Linked DNA regions of Homo sapiens: all the other regions are linked to region 2. The links are contacts of gene promoters, found by promoter capture Hi-C in human tissues and cell types (Jung and others, 2019). All regions are on one chromosome and are shown on one strand. The core of a region is centred on a gene start or on the middle of the fragment in contact, and the rest is flanking DNA. Distances in the headings are between cores, read along the strand shown.

Region 1 (3,481 bases), core at 198-2,697, 620 kb before region 2:
GTCAGGAGTTCAAGACCAGCCTGGCCAAGATGGTGAATCCCTGTCTTTACTAAAAATACAAAAAATTAGCCGGGCATGGTGGCAGGCGCCTGTAATCCCAGCTACTCAGGAGGCTGAGGCAAAGAATTGCTTGAACCTGGGAGGCAGAGGTTGCAGTGAGCCAAGATTGCGCCACTGCACTCCCGCCTTGGCGACAGAGTGAGACTCTGTCAAGGAAAGAAAGAAAGAAGAAAGGAAGGAAGGAAGGAAGGAAGAAAGAAAGAGAAAGGAAGGGAAGGGAAAAGAAAGAAAAGAAAAGAAAAAAAAAAAGAGGGAAATTGAAAGTTGGTAGTTATGGAAAATCACCTACATTGCAATCATGCACGGGATTTAACGTCTTAAAACAACTAATTTACCACAGAGGTGCAATGAGACCCCGAATTTGTGAATCCACTGATTTTTTAAATTCTTGCTACCCAAGACAGAGAACACAGGGGATCTCTGTGTTATGGGGCTCATCAGACCCCTTTATTTAGCCTTCAGATGGGAAGCCCCACCCCACCCTGCCCTGGAAGAGCCGCCTTCTTGGGGAGTTGCTTTCATGGACCCAGCTCCAGGGAAGATGGGTGGCCTGGATTCCTTCATTGCTACTCACCCAACTCAGCCCTCCAGGACCTCTCAAGGCCTTACGGCACCCCCGAGTTTGGAAATTCTACTTGTAATTGGGTTTATTAATTAGAGTTCATGCTTCAGGTGAATAAGACACAAATACAATTGGGCTGCCCCACACATAACCTGGGTAAGAAGAACAAAGTCAGAGTTGGTCATTGAAACAACTCCCAGAGACAAACAGCAGCAGGGGTTGAGAGTGGATTCTTTTTTGGGGTAGGGGCAGGGGACAGGGTCTTGCTCTGTCACCCAGGCTGGAATTCAGTGGTGCAGTCATGCTCACTACAGCTTCAATCTCCCAGGCTCAAGCGATCCTCCCACCTCGGCCTCCTGAGTAGCTGAGATCACAGGCACACGTCACCATGGCTGGCTAATTTTTAAATTTTTTATAGAGATGGGGTCTCATTATGTTGTCCAAGCTGGTCTCAAACTCTTGGGCTCAAGTGATCCTCCTGCTTTGGCCTCCCAAATTGCTGGAGTTACAGGCAAAAGCCGCCGCTCCTACACAAACACATACACACACACACACACACATTTTATATATATATAATGTATATATATAGAGAGAGCGCCAGGTTTTTGATTGGCCTGGACTGGGTGGAGGTCTGGCCTTGAGTTTCTTTCATGTTCACACTTGGTGAGGCCAGGGGGTGGCCAAAGACCCTCAGTCTTTTTCTTTTTCTTTTCTTAATTTTGTTTTTGAGACAGGGTCTCAGTCTGTCACCCAGGCTGGAGTGCAGTGGTGCAGCCTTGGCTCACTGTAGCTATGACCATCTGGGCTCAAGTGATCCTCCCACCTTGGCTTCCCAAGTAGCTGGGACTACAGGCAGACACCACCATGTCCAGCTATTTATTTATTTTTGATATTTTGTAAAGACAGTCTCATTATATTGCCCAGGCTAATCTCGAACTCTTGGACTCAAGCGCTCCTCCTGCCTCAGCTTCCCAAAGTGCTGGGATTATAGGCATGAGCCATGGCCCTTGGCCAGACTCCAATTTTCAGCCCCGCAAATGCACTTCAAATTCACATATTAAATAAAGGAATCTTGCTTATTATGGCAATGAGAATTCAAGACAGGTTCCTCCAACTCTTCCAGACAGATGGCCCTACCATAAGCTTCTCCAGTGTGGACATGCCAGAGCCAGCCTCAGCTCTGAGCCCAGCCCCGGGCCACAGTCCTGTGTGGGCAGTTACTTATTATGAAGCATGACACAGTGAAACTGGAGGCGTATGGATGGGACAGATGAGACTTGGGGTGGATGGCCCACTTACTCATTCACTCATTCATTCATTCACTTAGTTGAATGTTCTGAGGGCTGCCCAGGGCTTCCTACCATGGAGAGTGAGCATGGTCTCCACCCTCTCCAGGCTGTGGGCAGCCCTGGGGAGAGGGAACCAGCCAGGAGGACCAAAGCCTCTGGCAGAGAACTGGGTGGCGAGAGGAGGCCTGGCATTCTCTGCTCAGGACAGTTCAGGAGCGCAAGTGAGTTGACCCATGATCATTTTTATTGACTGATTGACTGCTTTAGAGACAGAGTCTCGCTCTGTCGCCCAGGCTGGAGTGTAGTGGTGCAATCTGGGCTCACTGCAACCTCTGCCTCCTGGGTCCAAGCGATTTTCCTGCCTCAGCCTCCCAAATAGCTGGGACTACAGGTGTGCGTCAACACGCCTGTTTAATGTTTGTATTTTTAGTAGACACTGGGTTTCACCATGTTGGCCAGGCTGGTCTCAAACTCCTGACCTCAAGTGATCCGCCCGCCTCGCCCTCCCAAAGTGCTGGGACTACAGGCGTGAGCCACCGTGCCTGGCCCCCAGTGTTATTTTAATTATGTGGGGGTAGATATCATTTTTACCCATGGCAACTGATCATGGAGCCCAGAGTTAAACCACCTTTCACATACTGAGGAAAGACGGGCTGATCCTTCCACAGTATTACAGTGACAGCTTCCAAAAGACCGCCCTGTGCCTTTCTTCTGGATTATCATGGCACCCCCCAGGACACGTTGGCCTCGTTGTCCTCACCAGCACTGGCTGTCTTCTCGAAGCTCCCTTGGGGTAGGGCAGGCTAACTTATTTCCGCTGTACAAAAGGGGAAACCCTGGGTCAGGAGGTACAGAAGTGCCTTCCTAAGAGCATATGGTTAGTCATGAGTTGAGTTCTGCTTTTTCGATTTCTGGTGGAGAATTCTCTTGCTCTAGTGATTCCTCATGGGTTCATTTTTCCTAGGGAGCTCATCACCATTATTTTTTGGGGGGCCTCTTGGCAAGAAGAGCTGGGGGCTTGTCCTCTGGTGTCCTCCATGCTCCAGGCACGAAGCCACTGTGCCAGGCCAGGGGCCCATTTGGGGGTGAATATCACGGGTTTATCATGAATTTGCCTGAAGTTCAACAGATATTTATTGGCTGGAAGAAAGTGGAGATTAACTAGAAGGTTACTTTTGATAGAATACAAGCTGTCAATCAAACTTTACAGTGGCCGCCCCCTCTCAGAGTAAAACCAAAGTCCTGTCAGGACCCAAAAAGCCATGGATGTCCGGCTCCCGACACCCCTACCCCACCCTGGTGTCTATCCTTCGCGCCTCTCTCCCCGCGCACAGGCTGCAGGCACACTGGCCTCGAGGAGTGCTCACCAATTTCAGGGCCTCTGGCCAGGCTGTTCCCTCCGCCTGGGCGCTCTCCCCACTGGTCCTGCGGGTCTGCCCCCTTCTCTCAGGTCTACATTCACAGGGTACCTCCTCCACTGCCCTCCCTGGCCTCTTGGAAATGCACTCTTTGTCCAGAATCACCCCTCTTGGCTCTGACTGGAAGGAAGAGGGGAGAAGGCACACAGATA
Region 2 (3,485 bases), core at 473-2,972:
GACCACTCCTCTCTGAGGGTTAGATGGGAGCCCTGAGTGTTACCTTAGTCCTCAGGTGTTTTAACATTGGGAGCCTCTGGCCTCTCTGGGAGTGAATCTGGCGTTTAAAGATACATATATTTGGCCGAGCGCAGTGGCTCACGCCTGTAATCCCAGCACTTTGGGAGGCCGAGACGGGCAGATCACAAGGTCAGGAGATCGAGACCATCCTGGCTAAGACGGTGAAACCGCATCTCTACTAAAAATACAAAAAAAATTAGCCAGGCATGGTGGTGGGCACCTGCAGTCCCAGCTACTCGGGAGGCTGAGGCAGGAGAATGGCGTGAACCCGGGAGGTGGAGCTTGCAGTGAGTGGAGATCGCGCCACTGCACTCCAGCCTGGGCGACAGAGCGAAACTCCGTCCCAAAACAACAACAACAACAACAACAACAACAAACATATATTTCGTGGAGCAAGAAATGTCTCAAACATAGCAAGAGAGTTGGGATGCCAACGGACCAAAGGGAAAGCAAGCATGACATAGCCCCCCACTACAAGGGCTTACCTATTATCCAAGCTTTGGGAGCTAGGTTAGAATCCCAGCTCTGTCGCTAACCAACCTGTGTACTTTAGCCAAGTCACTGTACCTGTCTAGACTTCGGATCGCATGTGTGTCTGCCCATCTCATAGGGTTACCCTGAGGCTAAATGAGGTAACAAATGTCATGAACCCACAAGGTAGACTCGACTCTCGGTAACAGTTCGTGTCACCCCCATCTCACACTACTCTCCCTCTTCGGACCCTGCACCCATGGATTCCATCCACCGCTGGCCAGGAGCTGAGTAGAGGCACCGAGCACGTGAAGAGGTGAATGGGCAAGGAAGGCTTCCAGGTCAGGTAGCATTTCCAGTGTTCCAGCCTGCAGGCATCTACCGAGCCTGGCCCGAGGCTGGCACCCAGAGATGCTTCCAGTCTTCCAGCAGCAACGCACTGACTGTAAGAAAAGCCTGCTTATAAACCCCCTACAGGCATTTGGAAGCTGGTCCCTGGGGTCCTCTACAGATTCATTTCGCCCCCAAACCCATCCCCTTTGTGCCACCCTCGTTATTGCACTCTTCCATCCGGATGGCATTTAGCTGGGTCCGGGTCTGTCACCCGTCTGACCACCAGCTCCTTGAGGGCAAGAGGCGCCTGCTGCCCTCAGGGTCCGCGCCCAGCCCGCAGCTGCTCAGATCCGGAGACGGGAAGGTTTGTTGGCGAGAACCTGACTCCCGGGTCACAGTTAAGGATGCAAGAGCCCGGCGCCTTCCCGTAGCCCCGGCCCTGTCATTAATTAATGCTGGGGCTCCATTCGGTGCAGCGCAGTCCCAGGGATGCAACCGCAACTTTTGCGCACAATAGGCTCTCGATCTGTAATCCAGCCAACCCAGGCCTGTAGTGTGTAAATGCCAACTCAGCGGGAGGGCTCTGGCTGTCGCCCAGAGCCGTTTCTCGGCTCTTTCGCGGTTGCCGGCGCGCTCGGGACAGGAGGAACCCGCAGCCCGCGGGAGTCAGCGGAGACCCGACCAGCACTATCCAGCCCTCTGCACCGCCCCCGCGGCGAGGTCTGGACCAAGTCGCCCCTAGCAACAACAGCCGGGCCGGCTTTCTCAGGCCATGCTGATTGGCGGGACTCCGGGTGGCGGCCTGTCGTCACTTCCGGCAGCCGGAGGCAGCAGAGGAAGCCGAGGGGCGGCCATCTTGGCTCCGTGAGGCTCTGAGGTGCCGGGGTGCGGCGGCGGCAGCGGCGGCCAGCAGGGCGGAGGCTGAGGCAGCAAGCTCGCTAGAGAGGGAGAAGCAGTCGGGCGCAGGCGCCTCCTCCGCAGCCCGCTCCATGGTCGGCGCCCACAGCCCGCGGCGGCCTGTCTTGCGCTCCACTTCCTTCACATCCTCCTCCGCCTCCTCGTTTTCAGGCGCCGCCGGCGGCGCTGTGTGGAGGCCCGCGAGCTGAAATTCGCGGTGCGACGGGAGGGAGTGGAGAAGGAGGTGAGGGGGCCCAGGATCGCGGGGCGCCCTGAGGCAAGGGGACGCCGGCGGGCCGAAGCGCAGCCCGCCGCCCGCAGGCTCGGCTCCGCCACTGCCGCCCTCCCGGTCTCCTCGCCTCGGCCGCCGAGGCAGGGAGAGAATGAGCCCCGGGACCCGCCGGGGGACGGCCCGGGCCAGGCCCGGGATCTAGACGGCCGTAGGGGGAAGGGAGCCGCCCTCCCCACGGCGCCTTTTCGGAACTGCCGTGGACTCGAGGACGCTGGTCGCCGGCCTCCTAGGGCTGTGCTGTTTTGTTTTGACCCTCGCATTGTGCAGAATTAAAGTGCAGTAAAATGTCCACTAGGACCCCATTGCCAACGGTGAATGAACGAGACACTGAAAACGTAAGTAACCTGGGCGTTGTAGTTGGCGGACCTTCGGGGTGGCATTCGTGCTCCTCGGGCAGTGCCTTGCAGTCGGGTGTTCCCCCCAGCCGAACGCTCTGGAAATAGAGGGCAGGCCGTAGTCACCCAGGAGGCAGCCAGGTCGGACCGTTTCCTCCAGAAGTCTGCCGTGTCCCGCTGTTCGCGGGCGGGTCTGCGAAGTACATCGATTATGCCGGCAGTCTAGTCGGTTAATAAAGCCCAGGAGTTGCAGCGTTACGGATCGGTGCTTTGAGAGGCCAGGTTGCCGCGCAATGGATTGTGCAAACGTGTGTGTCAGATCACTGCAGTGGTCAGTGCTTATTTTAGCCGAACTCTGCTTTTAACTTGGTCAGGCAGTTCTTGAGAGACTGTCACATTAATAACATATGTTACCGGTGCTGATTAAGAGTAATCGATTGGGTCAAGTGGGCGGTCTCGTTCTTTAAGATGGTCTGGAACTAAATTTAATCACAGTCACTAAGTGTCCACTGAGGGATCTTTGCGGTCCCCTTAGGAATTCCAAAACACTAGCGCGCAGCCTTTATTAAGGCAGTTTCCTTTCCATACAAATCTTTTTTGAAGGAGTTGGTTAAACATTTTGAAAAGCAGATGTATAGTGAAGCTCTGCTCTGCCACTCACTGCCTAGCTGAGGGACACCCGCTGGGGGCTTCGCTGTCCTCCTTCCTAAAAAGAGATTGGCTTAGATGAGCTCTTAGGTCCCTTTCAGCGCTCACAGGCTATGGTTTTATAAAAGGAACCTTTGATTTTGTTCATGTGAAACTACAAAATGCCAGGAACAGCATTGCTAGAGAATGAGAACTTGTAGTAGAAATTCCATTGAAGAAACGTTTGACTCTGTTCGTTTTCTAACTCTGTTCTCCTCTAACACTGGGTTCAAAAGTGTTTCAATCTAGTTGTTGACTATATTCTGTAAAACATCTAGTAAATAATTTGTAAAGAAACTTCACTGGCCTTTCATTAAAAGTGTTATGAGGTAATTGCTGGCACGAAATGTCTTCTCTTAGGGAATGCTTCCTTGCTTTGAGTGTTTTCATGCTTTCAGTAATGTCCTGAG
Region 3 (3,161 bases), core at 614-3,113, 790 kb before region 2:
TTCTTTCCATGACTGCAATTTAAGAGTAGTGAATTGAGTAATAAATTAAGAATTGAGAGTTTGATCCTTACTAGTTTTTATTTCCTCCTCCTACTTGTTTTTTTCTTTTTTCTTTTATTTTTTGAGACCAAGTCTCACTCTGTTGCCCAGGCTGGAGTGCAGTGGCACGATCTTGGCTCACTGCAACCTCCACCTCCGAGGTTCAAGTGATTCTCCTGCCTCAGCCTCCAGAGTAGCTGGGATTACAGGTGCCCACCACCACGCCCAACTAATTTTTGTGTTTTTATTAGAGATGCGGTTTCACCATGTTGGCCAGGCTGGTCTCGAACTCTTTGCTTCAGGTGATCTCCCCGCCTTGTCCTTCCAAAGTGCTGGGATTACAGGCGTGAACCACTGTGACTGCCCCTCCCCCCGCCTTTTTTTTTTTTTTTGAGACGGAGTCTTGATCTGTTGCCCAGGCTGGAGTGCAATGGCACAATCTTGACTCACTGCAACCTCCATCTCCCAGGTTCAAGTGATTCTCCTGCCTCAGCCTCCCAAGTAGTTGGAACTACAGGTGCGTGCCACCATGCCTGGCTAATTTTTGTGTTTTTAGTAGAGACGGGGTTTCACCATATTGGCCAGGCTGGTCTTGAACTCCTGACCTCAGGTGATCTGCCCCCCTCGGCCTCCCAAAGTGCTGGGATTACAGGCGTGAGCCACCATGCCCTGTCCCTACCTCAGTTTTGAGTGTGTCTTTGTTCTTCTCTTTTACTAGAATTTGAACAGAGAGGTGGACGTGAAACTTAACAGGCAGCTTTTTTTCTTTTCTTTTTTTATTATAGTAAAATAAGTAACTATGGTAGAGATGCATGAATGGAGGAATTTGACTTTGATTTTTTTTTTTTGAGACAGAGTCTCGCTCTTTCACCCAGGCTGGAGTGCAGTGGCATGATCTCAGCTCACTGCAACCTCCATCTCCTGGGTTCAAGCGATCCTCCTGCTGCAGCCTCCTGAGTAGCTGGGATTACAGACGCACACCACCACACCCGGCTAGTTTTTGTAGTTTTAGTAGAGATGAGGTTTCACCTTGTTGGCCAGGCTGGTCTCGAACTCCTGACCTCAGGTGATCCACCCACCTTGGCTTCCCAAAGTGCTGGGATTTCAGGCGTGAGCCACTGCGCCCGACCTTTTTTTTTTTTTTTTTTTTTTTTTTGAAATGGAGTCTTTCTATGTTGCCCAGGCTGGAGTGCAGTGGCACAATCAGCTCACACAGCCTCTGCCTCCCGGGTTCAAGCAGTTCTCCTGCCTCAGCCTCCTCAGTAGCCGGGATTACAGGCGTGTGCCACTATGTCTGGCTAATTTTGGTATTTTTGCAATTTTTTTTTTTTTTGAGATGGAGTTTTTTTCTCTTGTTGCTCAGGCTGGGGTGCAATGGCATGATCTCGATCTCGGCTCACCTCAACCTCCACCTCTCAGGTTCAAGCAATTCTCCTGCCTCAGCCTCCCGAGTAGCCGGGATTACAGGCATGGGCCACCACACCCAGCTAATTTTGTATTTTTAGTAGGGATAGGGTTTCTCCATGTTGGTCAGGCTGGTCGTGAACTCCCAACCTCAGGTGATTTGCCTGCCTTGGCCTCCCAGAGTGCTGGGATTATAGGCGTGAGCCACTGCGCAGCCCTAATTTTGGTATTTTTGGTAGAGATGGGTTTCACCATGTTGGCCAGGCTGGTCTCGAACTCCTGACCTCAGGTGATCCACTCACCTCGGCCTCCCAAAGTGTTGGGATTACAGGTGTGAGCCACTGTGCCCGGCCTGATTTTTTTGTCAGATTTTACTTATTTGCGGTATGCCAGCTTGACCCTATTTAGGTTTGAAAGCAAATGGTTGGAGCTAAGACTATCTGATATTTCCTATGCAGTTCAAAGGAAGATTTAATTCTGTCATGCCTTACAAAGAGTGAATGAGGTGGATAGAGCACGTTAGTCTTAAAATCCTGATTCAGTTCTTTTTTTTTTTTTTTTTTGAGACGGTGTCTCGCTCTGTTGTCCAGGCTGGAGTGCAGTGGTGTAATCCGGGCTCACTGCAAGCTCCGCATCCTGGGTTCATGCCGTTCTCCTGCCTCAGCCTCCCGAGTAGCTGGGACTACAGGCGCCTGCCACCACGCCCGGCTAATTTTTTTGTATTTTAAGTAGAGACGGGGTTCCACCATGTTAGCCAGGATGGTCTCAATCTCCTGACCTCGTGATCCGCCCGCCTCGGCCTCCCAGAGTGCTGGGATTACAGGCGTGAGCCGCCACGCCTGGCCCTGATTCAGTTCTTATAAAATAATTAATACCTAGATTAGATCGGTGTAGTGTGGCATTGCTTGGTAGTTAGAATACCATTTGTGTTTACACTGAAATAAAAAGTTTTACCAACTTTTAAAGAGTTAAAAAAAAAAAGAGTTAAAAACCTAAGTGCAGCCCTACACTTTTAACTTAGGCTTTGTTCTTACATGTGTTGTCCAGACTGCCTTTCCATGCTGTCTGCCGCAGATTATGCTGAGTTGTCATTGGTTTCTTTTAATATTCAGTAGTTACAGAATAATAGGGTAAGAGGGGGGATGCTTATCTATCCTACCTCTGGTTGGTTCTTTCCTACATAAGCAAAGCATCACTTATTTTGAAATGAATAATGTTTTTCTTTCCTTTTTTTTCCTTTTTTTTTTGAGATAGGGTCACACTCTGTCACCAGTATAGTGGTGTGATCATGGCGGCAGTGAACTTGAACCTCCTGGGCGCACACTATCCTCCCATCCATACTTTACCTCGAAAGTAGCTGGGACTACAGATGTCCACGACCATGCCTGACTAGTTTTTTTGTATTTTTTGTAGAGACAAGAGTTTTGCCACGTAGTCCAGGCTGGTCTCGAACTCCTTGGCTCAAGCCATCTGCCTGCCTTGGCCTCCCAAAGTGCTGGGCTTACAGGTGTGAGCCACCGTGTTCAGCCATTATTATTACTATTTTTTAATTTTTTTTATTCTCTTTATACACGTCCTTGGTGCTTCAGAGGCGTACATTGTTAATGATGAATATTTTTGAGATAGTGGCCCTTTAAAAAAGCAACCTTTATTTTGAATGTTTAATCCAATGTATTTAATCAGATCTGAAAATTTGTGGTTGTCATTGGCTTAACTGT

The links. Contacts are between HindIII fragments. The study calls those that stand out against the background at their distance.
Region 1: a contact is called between a fragment that was not itself captured here and the fragment with the promoter of MARK3 in region 2, in 1 of the 25 tissues and cell types used here (dorsolateral prefrontal cortex).
Region 3: a contact is called between a fragment that was not itself captured here and the fragment with the promoter of MARK3 in region 2, in 2 of the 25 tissues and cell types used here (aorta and dorsolateral prefrontal cortex).

What each region holds. Positions count from the first base shown.
Region 1 is chr14:102,765,714-102,769,194 of GRCh38, forward strand. No RefSeq gene overlaps it. Among named protein-coding and RNA genes, the nearest start is that of TRAF3, 10 kb to the right of the region's middle. The HindIII fragment of the contact is 6,726 bases long and covers 1-3,481 here.
Region 2 is chr14:103,383,693-103,387,177 of GRCh38, forward strand. It overlaps MARK3 (microtubule affinity regulating kinase 3), which reads left to right and starts at 1,723. Exons shown (of 18, transcript NM_001128918.3): 1 at 1,723-2,388. The coding sequence starts at 2,338. RefSeq lists enhancers at 548-1,539, 1,540-2,529, 2,470-2,659 and a silencer at 2,000-2,189. The HindIII fragment of the contact is 8,681 bases long and covers 1-3,485 here.
Region 3 is chr14:102,596,460-102,599,620 of GRCh38, forward strand. All of the region lies in intron 2 of RCOR1 (REST corepressor 1), which reads left to right. Among named protein-coding and RNA genes, the nearest start is that of RCOR1, 5.4 kb to the left of the region's middle. The HindIII fragment of the contact is 7,779 bases long and covers 1-3,161 here.